2 separate regions of the Homo sapiens genome follow, and region 2 is linked to region 1. Evidence: promoter capture Hi-C in human tissues and cell types (Jung and others, 2019). All regions are on one chromosome and are shown on one strand. The core of a region is centred on a gene start or on the middle of the fragment in contact, and the rest is flanking DNA. Distances in the headings are between cores, read along the strand shown. Region 1 holds the start of ZNF879 (zinc finger protein 879). Region 2 overlaps ZFP2 (ZFP2 zinc finger protein).

What was found. Contacts are between HindIII fragments. The study calls those that stand out against the background at their distance.
Region 2: a fragment that was not itself captured here is called in contact with the fragment with the promoter of ZNF879 in region 1 in 2 of the 25 tissues and cell types used here (aorta and dorsolateral prefrontal cortex).

What each region holds. Positions count from the first base shown.
Region 1 is chr5:179,020,330-179,026,091 of GRCh38, forward strand. ZNF879 (zinc finger protein 879) reads left to right here and starts at 3,475. Exons shown (of 5, transcript NM_001136116.3): 1 at 3,475-3,575; 2 at 4,641-4,708. The coding sequence starts at 4,676. RefSeq lists an enhancer at 3,103-3,604. The HindIII fragment of the contact is 17,237 bases long and covers 1-5,762 here.
Region 2 is chr5:178,914,959-178,920,720 of GRCh38, forward strand. ZFP2 (ZFP2 zinc finger protein) reads left to right here. Exons shown (of 5, transcript NM_030613.4): 4 at 1,607-1,752. Among named protein-coding and RNA genes, the nearest start is that of ZFP2, 22 kb to the left of the region's middle. The HindIII fragment of the contact is 3,776 bases long and covers 264-4,039 here.

The DNA.
Region 1 (5,762 bases), core at 2,225-4,724:
TTGATTTACTTACTACAGTATCTTGTAATCCATGCAAGTTTTACTTTCTTCGATTCTTCTTTTTTCTTTTCTTTTTTTTTTTTTTTTTTGAGACGGAGTCTCGCTGTCGCCCAGGCTGGAGTGCAGTGGTGCGATCTGGGCTCACTGCAGGCTCCGCCCCCCGGGGTTCACGCCATTCTCCTGCCTCAGCCTCCCAAGTAGCTGGGACTACAGGCGCCCGCCACCACGCCCGGCTCATTTGTTTGTATTTTTAGTAGAGACGGGGTTTCACCGTGTTAGCCAGGATGGTCTCGATCTCCTGACCTCGTGATCTGCCCGCCTCGGCCTCCCAAAGTGTTGGTGTTACAGGCGTGAGCCACCGCGCTCGGCTAATTTTTTATATTGTTAGTAGAGATGGGGTTTCACTGTGTTAGCCAGGATGGTCTCGATCTCCTGACCTCGAGATCTGCCCACCTCGGCCTCCCAAACTGCTGGTATTACAGGCGTGAGCCACCGCACCCGGCCTTTTTTTTTTGGGGGGGGGGGGACAGGTCTCCCTGTGTGGCCCAGGCTGGAGTGCAGTCGTGAAATTTCGGCTCACTGCTATCTCTGCCTCCCTGGCTCAAGTGATTCACCCACCTCAGCACCCCACCCCAACCCCTAGTAGCTGGGACCATAGGCGTGCGCCACGATGCCCGGCTAATTTTGTTTTTGTGGTTTTTTTTTTTTTGGAGGGGGGTGGGGAGACATGGAGTTTCACTACGTTGCCCAGACTGGTCTCGCGCTCCCGAGCTCAAGCCATCTGCCCACTTTGGCCTCTGAAAGTGTTGGGACTACAGGTGTGAGCCACTGCGCCCGGCGGGATTCTTCTTTTTTTAAATGAGTTACATTCATTACTAATTCTAGCAGAGATACTCTATGAATTGGAATCTATGTAAATACATTCATCCTCCAAATGCCTTTGCTTCACTCACAATCCAATGCAAGATTGGAAGGTTATAGTATTCTACAGAATCTATAGTACTCTATTTAAATTCCAAATCATTTTCTGTTTGAAATCTGAGGACATTGCTCCACACCATCTTCTAGAACCCGTGTTGCTGAGAAGCCTGATGTCAGCTGCACTTTCTTTGGTTCGTCTAGAGTAGTGGACTTTCTTGGTTACCTAATATCCTCTCGCCTTCCTAATTCTCAACAGAACCTAGATTTTGTTTACATATCCACATCACATCCAGCTCCTGAGGATCAGGGTGGAGAAAAGGAAGAAACGTGTTTGTTTGTTTTTTTCTGAGAGTGTCGCTCTGTCCCCCAGGCTGGAGTGCAGTGGCGCGATCTCAGCTCACTGCAACCTCCGCCTCCCGGGTTCAAGCAACTGCCCTGCCTCAGCCTCCCAAATAGCTGGGATTACAGGCTTGAGCCACCACCCCCGGCCAAAACCTGGTTTTTGCTGACATCATAGAACCACCGATTCTTCTCTAGCCGGAGTCTGCCCCAGTGATTTCTTGCTATTCCTTATTCATTTCAGCCAACTTGAGCAGTTCCATCTTCTGTGACTTGTAGCAAATAACACATGCCAACCTTTTATTCCGTCTTTTCTGGCCACTTTTAGGGGTTCCTATTTATCCTCAGAGTTGTGATATTTCATCGAGGATGTATTTTTTATGGGCCATCCCTACCCTAGCTCATTCATTATGCCAAACTCCCTACATTTTATTTACTCTGAAGACTCAGGGCTTCCTCAGCTTGAATGTGTTTTCTGCTATATCTCTATCACTATTTCTGTATGTAATCAATCTGTTATTATTCCCCCTCCCCATTTTCTCTGCTTTCTTCTGAATCTTTTTATTAGATTTTGGGTATCAGAGCACTTGTCTCCTGCATGTCTTCCAAATGTTTCCTCAATTTCTGGTGTTCTGATGGTATTTTTCTAGAGTTGCATTAGATTTGCTCCTTTGAAAATTATATGTGTTTGGGGTTACTTTGAAGAATATGAAGAGAAAAAGGGAGGTAATCATGGGTACTCAGTCTGGCACCTTTTACTTTGTAAATCTCAATGCTATGTTGTTTTGTCAATAATGGTCTATAACTGTCATATCTTTATTATTATTATTTTAAAATAATAATTAAATATAGAAATAACATATGGTCCAGAAATGGAATTGCCCATGTGTTAATTCTACATTTAATTTTTTTTTGAGGAACTGCCATACCGTTTTCCAGCGCAGCGCTACCATTTTACATTCCCACCATTAAGGCACAAGGATTGTTTTCTGGTTTTCTTTTTTTTCCAAATTTTATAATAGCCAACCTAATGAGTGTGAAATCGCAGTGGATGTTTGATCTGCTTTGATCTGCATTCCCCTAATGATTAGTGATGTGCATTATTATCTTTTAACAATATAAAACATCCATTTTGTTCGATTTAATTATTTTTACATTGCAATAATCTTTGTATTGTTGTAACATCGTGATCCAAGATTTCTTTTTCATATTATCTACCTGATATCTCTTAGTCCCTCTCTGCATTTTCTATCTTCAAGTACCCTTTGTGTTTAGGTTTGTCTCTGTAAACGCTAATGTTTGATATTTTAAAAATCAACACTTTCTGAGCACATAGTATTTGGCGTGTACAGTGCCGGTCACCGAGGATGCAGTTGTGATGATAGCGCTGGGAGTTGGGCTTTATTTTACGTTTTAAAGAAGTCACTTCAAAAGAAGTGAGTGCCATGAAGAGGGAAATACTAGGCTTATGCTTTTGTTTTACTCTGAGTGCCAGTAAATATGTAAAGATTACAAAAATTTATTTATTTATTTATTTATTTATTTGAGACAGAGTCTTGCTCTGTCACCCAGGCTGGAGTGCAATGGCGCGATCTGAGCTCACCGCAACCTTCGCCTCCCAGGTTCAAGCGATTCTCCTGCCTCAGCCTCCCGAATAGCTGGGATTACAGGCATGTGCCACCACGCCCGACTAATTTTTCGTGTTTTCGTAGAGACAGGGTTGCACCATGTTGGCCAAGATGGTCTCGGTCTCCTGACCTTGTGATCCGCCCACCTCGGCCTCCCAAAGTGCTGCGATTACAGGCATAAGCCACCGCGCCCGGCCGAGATTATAAAATTTAGACATAATTCATTTTTAATTAAAATCGCAGAATGGACTGTAATAGTTCTGTCACCACCTGCGAATAATCAGCAGCGGCTAGTCTTCCAGATTTAAAAATTCATACTCACTTTTCCGTCTTACTATTTTTGTCATTCTAATTACGAATACAATGGGTGGTTTAGCGGAGGGAGAGTAGTTGGAGCCCAAGCTGAGGGACTCGGCTTCAGCCTTCTCGAACTCCACAGCCCGACCGCGTTCTCCGCTCTCGGCGCTGTGGTTCTCTCTCGGACACCGTAAGTGGTGGTGCCGCAGCGACGTCTGGGAAATGAAGTCCGGAGGGACAAACGCTGCGGTTCAGCCAGGGAAACCCGTCGGCTCTCCGGCGCGCAGGCGCAGTTGCGCCCGGCAGCGACGGGAAACGTCTCTGAATTAGGTGTTCCGCTCGCCTCTTGTGCGGTGTGGAGCTGCGCGCCCCCCGCCGAGGCGGGCCCAGGTACAGGCTGCCGGTGAGGGCGGGCCCGGGGCGTGCGGCTGCCGCGGCGGGACCAGGACGAGGGCTGGCCTCTGCGCGTGTCTGCCGAGTCCCCGGCTCCGGGCGTCCGAGCCGGGGCGGCCTCGGCAGGTGAACCCGGCCCCGGAGGGGGCGTGGCCTGGGAAGGGCCTGGCGGAGGCCGGGAGGGCGCTTCGACGCCGCTGGACTCCTGGGCCGCAGCCTGGGCCGGACTCCGGGGGAAACGGCTCCAGAACAGAAACTGCAAAATGCCGCCTCGGTTCAGGGTCCGGAGCCCTCCGGGCGGTTTTTCGCTCTTAGTGTTTGTGGGTTTAAGCCTCCCCCTACTCCGTTTCCCGGAGTTTAAACTTTAGATTTACTCGTTTTTGGCAGTCTTGCACGTTTGGCAGTGTTTTCCTACAGCCAGTCCTAGAGTGATTTAACTATTTCTTTTTTTATTTACCGTAACCATGTCCACTTGCTACGTTTCTTCCCATTTCTCTAAATTTTAAATCAATTTCTAGCTAGTGATGCTGTTTTCTTGCGCCCTTGTTTTTTTGGGGCCAGGGAGAATGGGTAACGCTACCTTTAAGCAGCTTTGATAACTGTTTTTGATAAAGGAAGTAAATCTTACAAGAGGAAGAAAAGAGGACTAATTTTTGGTTGGCTGTTCCTAAAAAAGAGCATCAGTTCTTCAACTGCTGTTTTTCGTATTGAACAACATCCAAGTGCAGATGTGTGGAATATTGTGTCATTTCCTATTACTTTATCTGAATGAGCCTTGCCTGATTCTGCCCTTGACCCTGTTAAGGCACGGCAGATGGTCTTCATCCCTTCGCTCCTTTCGTCTTTATCGTAAAGCACTGGCAGAAAGGTAGCAGGCCCGGTGACTCTGAACCTGCTTCCCACACTGGTTTAAGTGGCCGGACTTAGGGCCCCTCTGGCCTGGGCAGTTCCAGGCTCCTTCTCTGCAGGTGCTCAGCTTATGGCTTCTAACCTGGTCTGGCCTAATGAGGGTGGGCATGCAGGCTGGATGAAAAGACCTCACAGCTTTTTTCTCCATTCCAGGTGCCTTCTCCAAGAGAGGCAGCAGGGAGGGAGAAATGGCAAGGAGGTTGCTGCCAGCCCATGTACAGGTGAGTGAAGGCTTCTTTTTGCTTGAACTGCCTTCAGGGTCTAGACGTGGTAAACTTCTTCATCTGTTGTTGAGCTTCTCTACCCAGTGAAGCTCAGGGAAGGACCAGAGGGCTTGGTAGCTGAGAAACTCTGGAAGGAAGGTGTTTCCCTTGCCTCAGAGCCTGTCTCATGCTTTTTTTTTTTTTTCTTTCCCTTTTTTGAGACAGGGTCTCACTCTGTTACCCAGGCTGGAGTGCAGTGGCACGGACATGGCTCACTGCAGCCTCAACCTCCCTGGTAGCTGGGACTACAGGCATGTGTGCCACCACACCCAGCTAATTTTTGTATTTTTAGTAGAGACCAGGCTTCAACAAGTTGGCAAGGCTGGTCTTGAACTCCTGACCTCAAGCAATCTGCCCGCCTCAGCCTCCTAAAGTGTTGGGACTATGGGCGTGAGCCACCGCGCCCGGCCCCCAGTCTCATGCTTTTTGACAAAGAATTTAATGGGGCTCCAATGCCAGGCCACTGCCACTACCAGAGCTTTGTGAAAGATCCAGGTGTTTTTGCCCTGTGGAGGACAAAGACACGGAGGAGTTAAATAATTCCTTCCTAACACGGGGAATTTGAAAAAGAGAGGCCCTGTATTCCCAGGACCTTGGGAGGCCAAGGTGGGCAGATCACTTGAGGTCAGAAGTTCAAGACCAGCCTGACCAACATGGTGAAACCCGGTCTCTACTAAAAATACAGAAGTTAGCTAGGGATGGTGGTGCATGCCTATAGTCCCAACTGCTCTGGAGGCTGAGGCAGGAGAATCACTTGAACCCGGGAGGCAGGGGTTGAAGCGAGCGGAGATCATGCCACTGCACTCCAGCCTGCGTGACACAGCGAGACTCCGTCTCAAAAAAAAAAAAAGCCAGGTGTGGTGGGTCTGGTGGTGCGCTCCTGTAATCCCAGTTAGTCCGGAGGCTGAGGCAGGAGAATCACTTGAACCCGGAAGGTGGAGGTTGCAGTGAGCTGAGATTGTGCCATTGCACTCCAGCCTGGTGACAGAGCAAGACTCCATCTCAAAAAAAA
Region 2 (5,762 bases), core at 902-3,401, 110 kb before region 1:
ACGTTTCAGTCCTTCTGTAAAAAGATCTATTTGTACTATCATTTTTTAAATTTCTGTGAGCCACTCATTGTCTGAATGTTCTTCTTAAATAGCAGTCTTTCTAACGCATACACTAACTTCACTCATCTGTTTGGGAGTATTTCATTGTTTTTGTTTCTGGTTTTCTGGTATGTATGTGCAGCAGTTTTTTCCTTGCTCCCTAGATTATTTTATTGATGCCATTTTCATTGCTTATTGTCATTCTGGTGGGTTTTCTGGAAGCAGCAGAAGCAAACACATATATTTTGATACTGTGTTTTCATCTCCCACTTCTTTACCCCATTCGTGCTTCCCTACTGGGTTAGAACCTAAAGGTTTTTCTTTCTTTTTTTTTTTTTTTTTTTTTTTGAGATGGAGTCAGGCTGGAGTGCAGTGGTGCAGTCTTGGCTCACTGCAACCTCCGCCTTCCAGGTTCAAGCAATTCTTCTGCCTCAGCCTCCTGAGTAGCTGGGACTACAGGTGCACACTGCCGTGCCCGGCTAATTTTTTGCATTTTAGTAGAGACAGGGTTTCACTGTGTTGTCCAGGCTGGTCTCAAACTCCTGAGCTCAGGCAGTCTGCCCACCTCAGCCTCCCAAAGTGCTAGGATTATAGGCGTGAGCCATGGCACCCAGCTCACTTGTTTTTTTTTTTACTGCATGTGACACTGTATTTTGCTCATCATTTTCCATGTCTGTCTGTCTTTAGCCGGGCATGGTTGCGTGCACCTGTAATCCCAGCTACTCGGGAGGCTGAGGTGCAAGAATCACTTCAACCCGGGAGGCTGAGGTTGCGGTAAGCTGAGATTGTGCCACTGCACTCCAGCCTGGGCAGCGGAGCAATACCCACTAATATGTAGGCTCACCGAATTGTCATTGAACATGTTTTTCTTTACATTCCCTGACTATGACATTGCTTGCTGGAGTAAGTACTTAAATATTTGTTGAGTGAATATTTAATGACATCAATTAGAATTTTCATAAATCTGGTGAAAATATAAATTTGAATTTATGAAATTCATATCAATACAGATTGGATAATTATTGGGATGAATGAATGAGTGGGCAGGGCAAAACAGCAAAGGTGGGACCCTCAGGACAATAACATAGTGAGGGGGCCAAGGATGCTCTGGTGAAGGTGAGTGGTCCAAGGAGGAGGAGAGGGCCCAGCAGGAGAACATGGTCGAAGGGAGAGAGGAGAGTCAAGGTAGAGTATGACAGTGCCAAGTAGGGAATGAAAATGCCTGTTGGATTTGGTGATGAGGGAGTGGCCTGGGACCCAGGGAAGAGCCCATTTAGTGCTGAGAGAAATACGCTGTGGGCAGAAAAGTGAAGAGGAAGCAAGCAAGTGAAGACTTTTAAGTACAGACTGTCGTTTCAACAAGGCCAGCTTCTAAGGAAAAGGAAGAAAGAGTAAGAACTCAGAAGAAGCCTGTGGTTTGTTTTTTAACAAGGAAAAGACTTGAGTGTATCTGAAAGAGCAGAGAGGTGTCCATTGCAGTGGGAGAAACTAAAGATAGGCGAAAGTTGAATGGAAAGGAGCCCATAGAACATGATGATTTGCAAACTCCAGATCTTGTTCTTTCCAGATTTTCTTGGATATTGCTGTCAGATTAATCTGACATTTAGTCCTCTCATTATCCTGTCCCAGTCAAGGGGAGAAAGTATTGACTGAGTGCTGTGCTCAGCTCTTCCACAGCCAGCATCTCACTTACTTGACACAAAACATCTATAGGTAAGTACTGGTACTCCTCTTACGGTGGAAGACATTGGCTCTGAAAGGTGAAATAACATGTCAGAATCTGAACACATATCTTTTGTTTTGTTGGTTTTTTACTTTGAGTTTAATGGTAATTCTCGCTTTCTTCCCTTGCCCTGCTGTGTTGTTATTTCCTAGTATATTTAGTAAAACTAGAAACTTCTGTATCCTGGCCTAATTTTCTTTTCAGCATCATTTCTTTTCTCTGTACTAAAGCTTTGTACAGTTGAAAGCATTGTTAGATTTTTGCTCCTGTTTTACAAAAGATGAATAGAAACTGCAAATCCAGAAGTGCTGTCCCTGGTGCCAGTATTTTCATTGTAAACTGACTAATTTTGAGAAAAGATAGAAATTTTTAGTAATGTGGAAAGCAGTGTCTTTTAGCCTCTCATCAATAGCAATTAGATTTAAATCATTTAATCATATTCAGTTATGAAGGAGATAAAAATTAAGAACATGAATAAAGTACTATCAAAGATTATGTGTAAAAATACAGTTGGGGATTCTATAATCTTTTTAGCTCTCCAGGAAGCCACCCTAACCATCCCTAAACATAGGAGCCTGCTGTCTGTGTTTCACACATGATTTTTAAAAATGTGGCCGGGCGTCGTGGCTCACACCTGTAATCCCAGCATTTTGGGAGGCTGAGGCGGGCAGATCTCTTGAGGTCAAGAGTTCGAGACCAGTCTGGCCAACATGGTGAAACCCCGTCTCTACTAAAAATACAAAAATTAGCCAGGTATGGTGGCACGTACCTATAATTCCAGCTACTCAGGAGGCTGAAGCGTGAGAATCACTTGAACCCGGGAGGTGGAAGTTGCAGTAAGCCGAGATCATGCCACTGCACTCCAGCCTGGGCAACAGAGCAAGACTCCATCTCAAAAAAAAAAAAAATTTTCAGAGATGTACTGGATAACTACTTCTGCATATATGTATGTCTGTCCATGTAAATATATGTGTACATATATAGAGAAACATACACAGAGAATTTATATAGTTAAGAGTCTCTATCTGCCTGCATGCTCACATGAGCCTCACTGATGTTTAATACGTACACATATCTTTGCTTTCGTTACTAGGAAAACTGATCTAAAATACTATAATGAATGTAGAAGTATTCAAAAAGTTCATTCTTCCTTAAATAAGACAGGCCCACTGCTGCCTCAGGGCCTTAGCACTGGCTGTTACCCTGTCTGGGAAGCTTTCCCTTAGATAGTCCTATGACTTCCTCTCTTAGTCCCTTAAAGTCTTGGTTTAAATGTCACCTTTTCAGTGAGGCCTTTTCTTATGACCCACTTTAAAATTGCAGACGTTTTCTCTCACCCATCATGTTCCCTATATCCATTTAAATGCTTTTATTGTTTTTCTGTAAGGTATACCACTTACTTATTGTCTCCCTTTCTCTTGCTAAAATATGTTTCATAAGGGCAGACATTTTTTCTGTTTATTGCTATATCCTGAGCACCCAGAACAGTACCTGGCTTGATAAGTATTTATTGAATGAATGATTTATCGTGTTCATAAAACCAGTTTGACTGCTATATGGAGAGAATGCATTGTAGGGTAGCAAGAGTTTAAATAGAAAATCCAGACAGGTGGGTATAGAAATAGTCTAGTTGGGTGTTAGGAGTAGCTAACTGTTACCCAGAGGATGGAAGAAATATAAAAGGAGAAAATAAATAAATCAACTTGCCCTTTTCAAGAAGCATGGGACCTGCTTGCTGCCCAGTCCCATCCCACACACCCATACTGTGCAAGCTCCCAGCCTCTGCTATGGCTTGTGCCAGCCGTGTGTACTAAGGGGTCTGTGACAGACCAGACACCTTGGTCTGGAGACTCTAGTTCATGTCCTGGTGAGTATCAGAGTTATATAAATCCTATAAGTTAACGAGTGAAGGCAGAAAAAGCATTCCAAGCCGTTAAGGGAGTATTGAGTATTTCCAGTATTATTACTCAAAAGTCTTGTTTAGGAAAAAAGGAAAGGCAGAGAGAACTGTATGTTGCTTAATGTAAAATAGTAATGATGGTAATGATAACAGCTAATAATCACTGGATCCTTATTACATCCAAGCATAATGCTTTGTGCTTTATAAAGTCCTTATTTAATGAGATAGTAAAATGTCAAGGATCTGAAACATTGTTTAATCCTGGAAGAGCTACAGTTTCTGACCTATACTGCTCAGGCTCCAAGCCCACAATACTCCATCAATTCTGAGTAAAGCCCCCCTAACCGTTTTTCATTTTGTAGGTAGACAGTTATATAATCTGGGAAAAATTAAAAATTTCCCCCCATCTCAGTGGCCATATTGGTCACACTTCTGGAATAACATTAAATAGTAGTAGTAATAGTAAGCACCTTTTCCTTGGTTCTGTTATTAGAGAGAATTCTTCTAGGGCTTTATTTGTATTCTTGGTGCAATGCTAATATTTTTGTTTTTGAACACGAATGGATGAAGGATACCAGTTGAATACTTCTGAACCATCTATCAGGTTGATCATATGACCTATGACCTATTAATATGATAGTAATAGATTCTTAATAGTGAACCATTCTTTATTTCCTGGATAAATCCTTCTTCGTGCTAGTTATACTCTTGATGTCTAAGTAACCAGCATTGTTTAAAAACATTAAGAGTTCTGGCTCTGATATTACAATGACTTAACAGGGTGGGTCTGCTGGTGACAAATTCTCTTAGTTTTCTTTCATATGAGAATGTCTTTATTTCACCTTCATTCCTGAAAGATTTTTGCTAATATAGAACTCTAGGTTTATGGTTATTTCTTTCAGCACTTTGAAATAATTAATCCACTTCCTTCTGGCATCCATGGTTTCTGATGAGAAATTCAGTTATTCACATTTTTGCCCTGCCACCAAGTAGTGTATCAATTTTCCCTGGTTGCTTTCAAGATTGTTTTTTACTTCCATTTTTAGAATTTAATTATGGCTGGGCATAGTGGTTCACACCTGTAATCTCAGCACTTTGGGAGGTGAAGGCAGGTGGATCACTTGAGGCCAGGAGTTTGAGACTGGCCTGGGCAAAACATGGCGAAACCCTTTCTCTGCAAAAAATACAAAACTACCTGGGTGTGGTAGTGCATGCCTGTAGTCCCAGCTACTTGGGAGGCTGAGGAGGCACGGGAATCGCTTGAACCCAGGAGGTGAAGGTTGCAGTGAGCCAAGGTTGTACCACTGCACTTCAGCCTGGGCGACAGAGTGGACTCTGTCTCAAAAGAAAAAAAAAAAAATTTGATTATGATGCATCTGGGCGTGGATTTCTTTGGGTTTACCCTGTTCCTATAGGTTGAAATCTTCTGTCAAATATAAGCTTTTAACCATGATTTCTTCAAATACTTTTTCAGCACCAAACATTTTCTCCTTCTCTGGGACTCCAGTGAGACATATATGAGATCTTTTGTTGTTGTCCCATACATCCCTGAGGTGCTCTTCATCTTTATTTTTTCTCAATCTTTTCTCTCTGTGTTGTTCAGATTGAATAATTTCTTTTAATCTGTCTTCAAGTTAATTCTTTCCTTTTTTCACCCTTCTGCTGTTGGACCTATTTAGCAAGATTTCTATTTTCTATATCAATAAATAAGTGTTTATATATTAAAAATACTGTAGGGCTAGGTGTGGTGGCTCACACCTGTAATCCCAGCACTTTGAGAGGCCAAGGCTGGTGGGTCACGAGGTTAGGATTTCAAGACCAGCCTGGCCAACATAGTGAAACCCCGTCTTTCCTAAAAATACAAAAATTAGCCGGGCATGGTGGCGTGTACCTGTAGTCCCAGCTACTCAGGAGGCTGAGGCAGGAGAATCGCTTGAACCCGGGAGGTAGAGGTTGCAGTGAGTCGAGATCGCGCCACTGCACTCCAGCTTGGGCAACAGAGTGAGACTTCGTCTCAAAAAAAAAAAAAAAATTGTATATTTTTCACTTCCAGAATTTCCACTTAGTTCTTTTTATATGCTCATTTTCTTTGCTGAGATT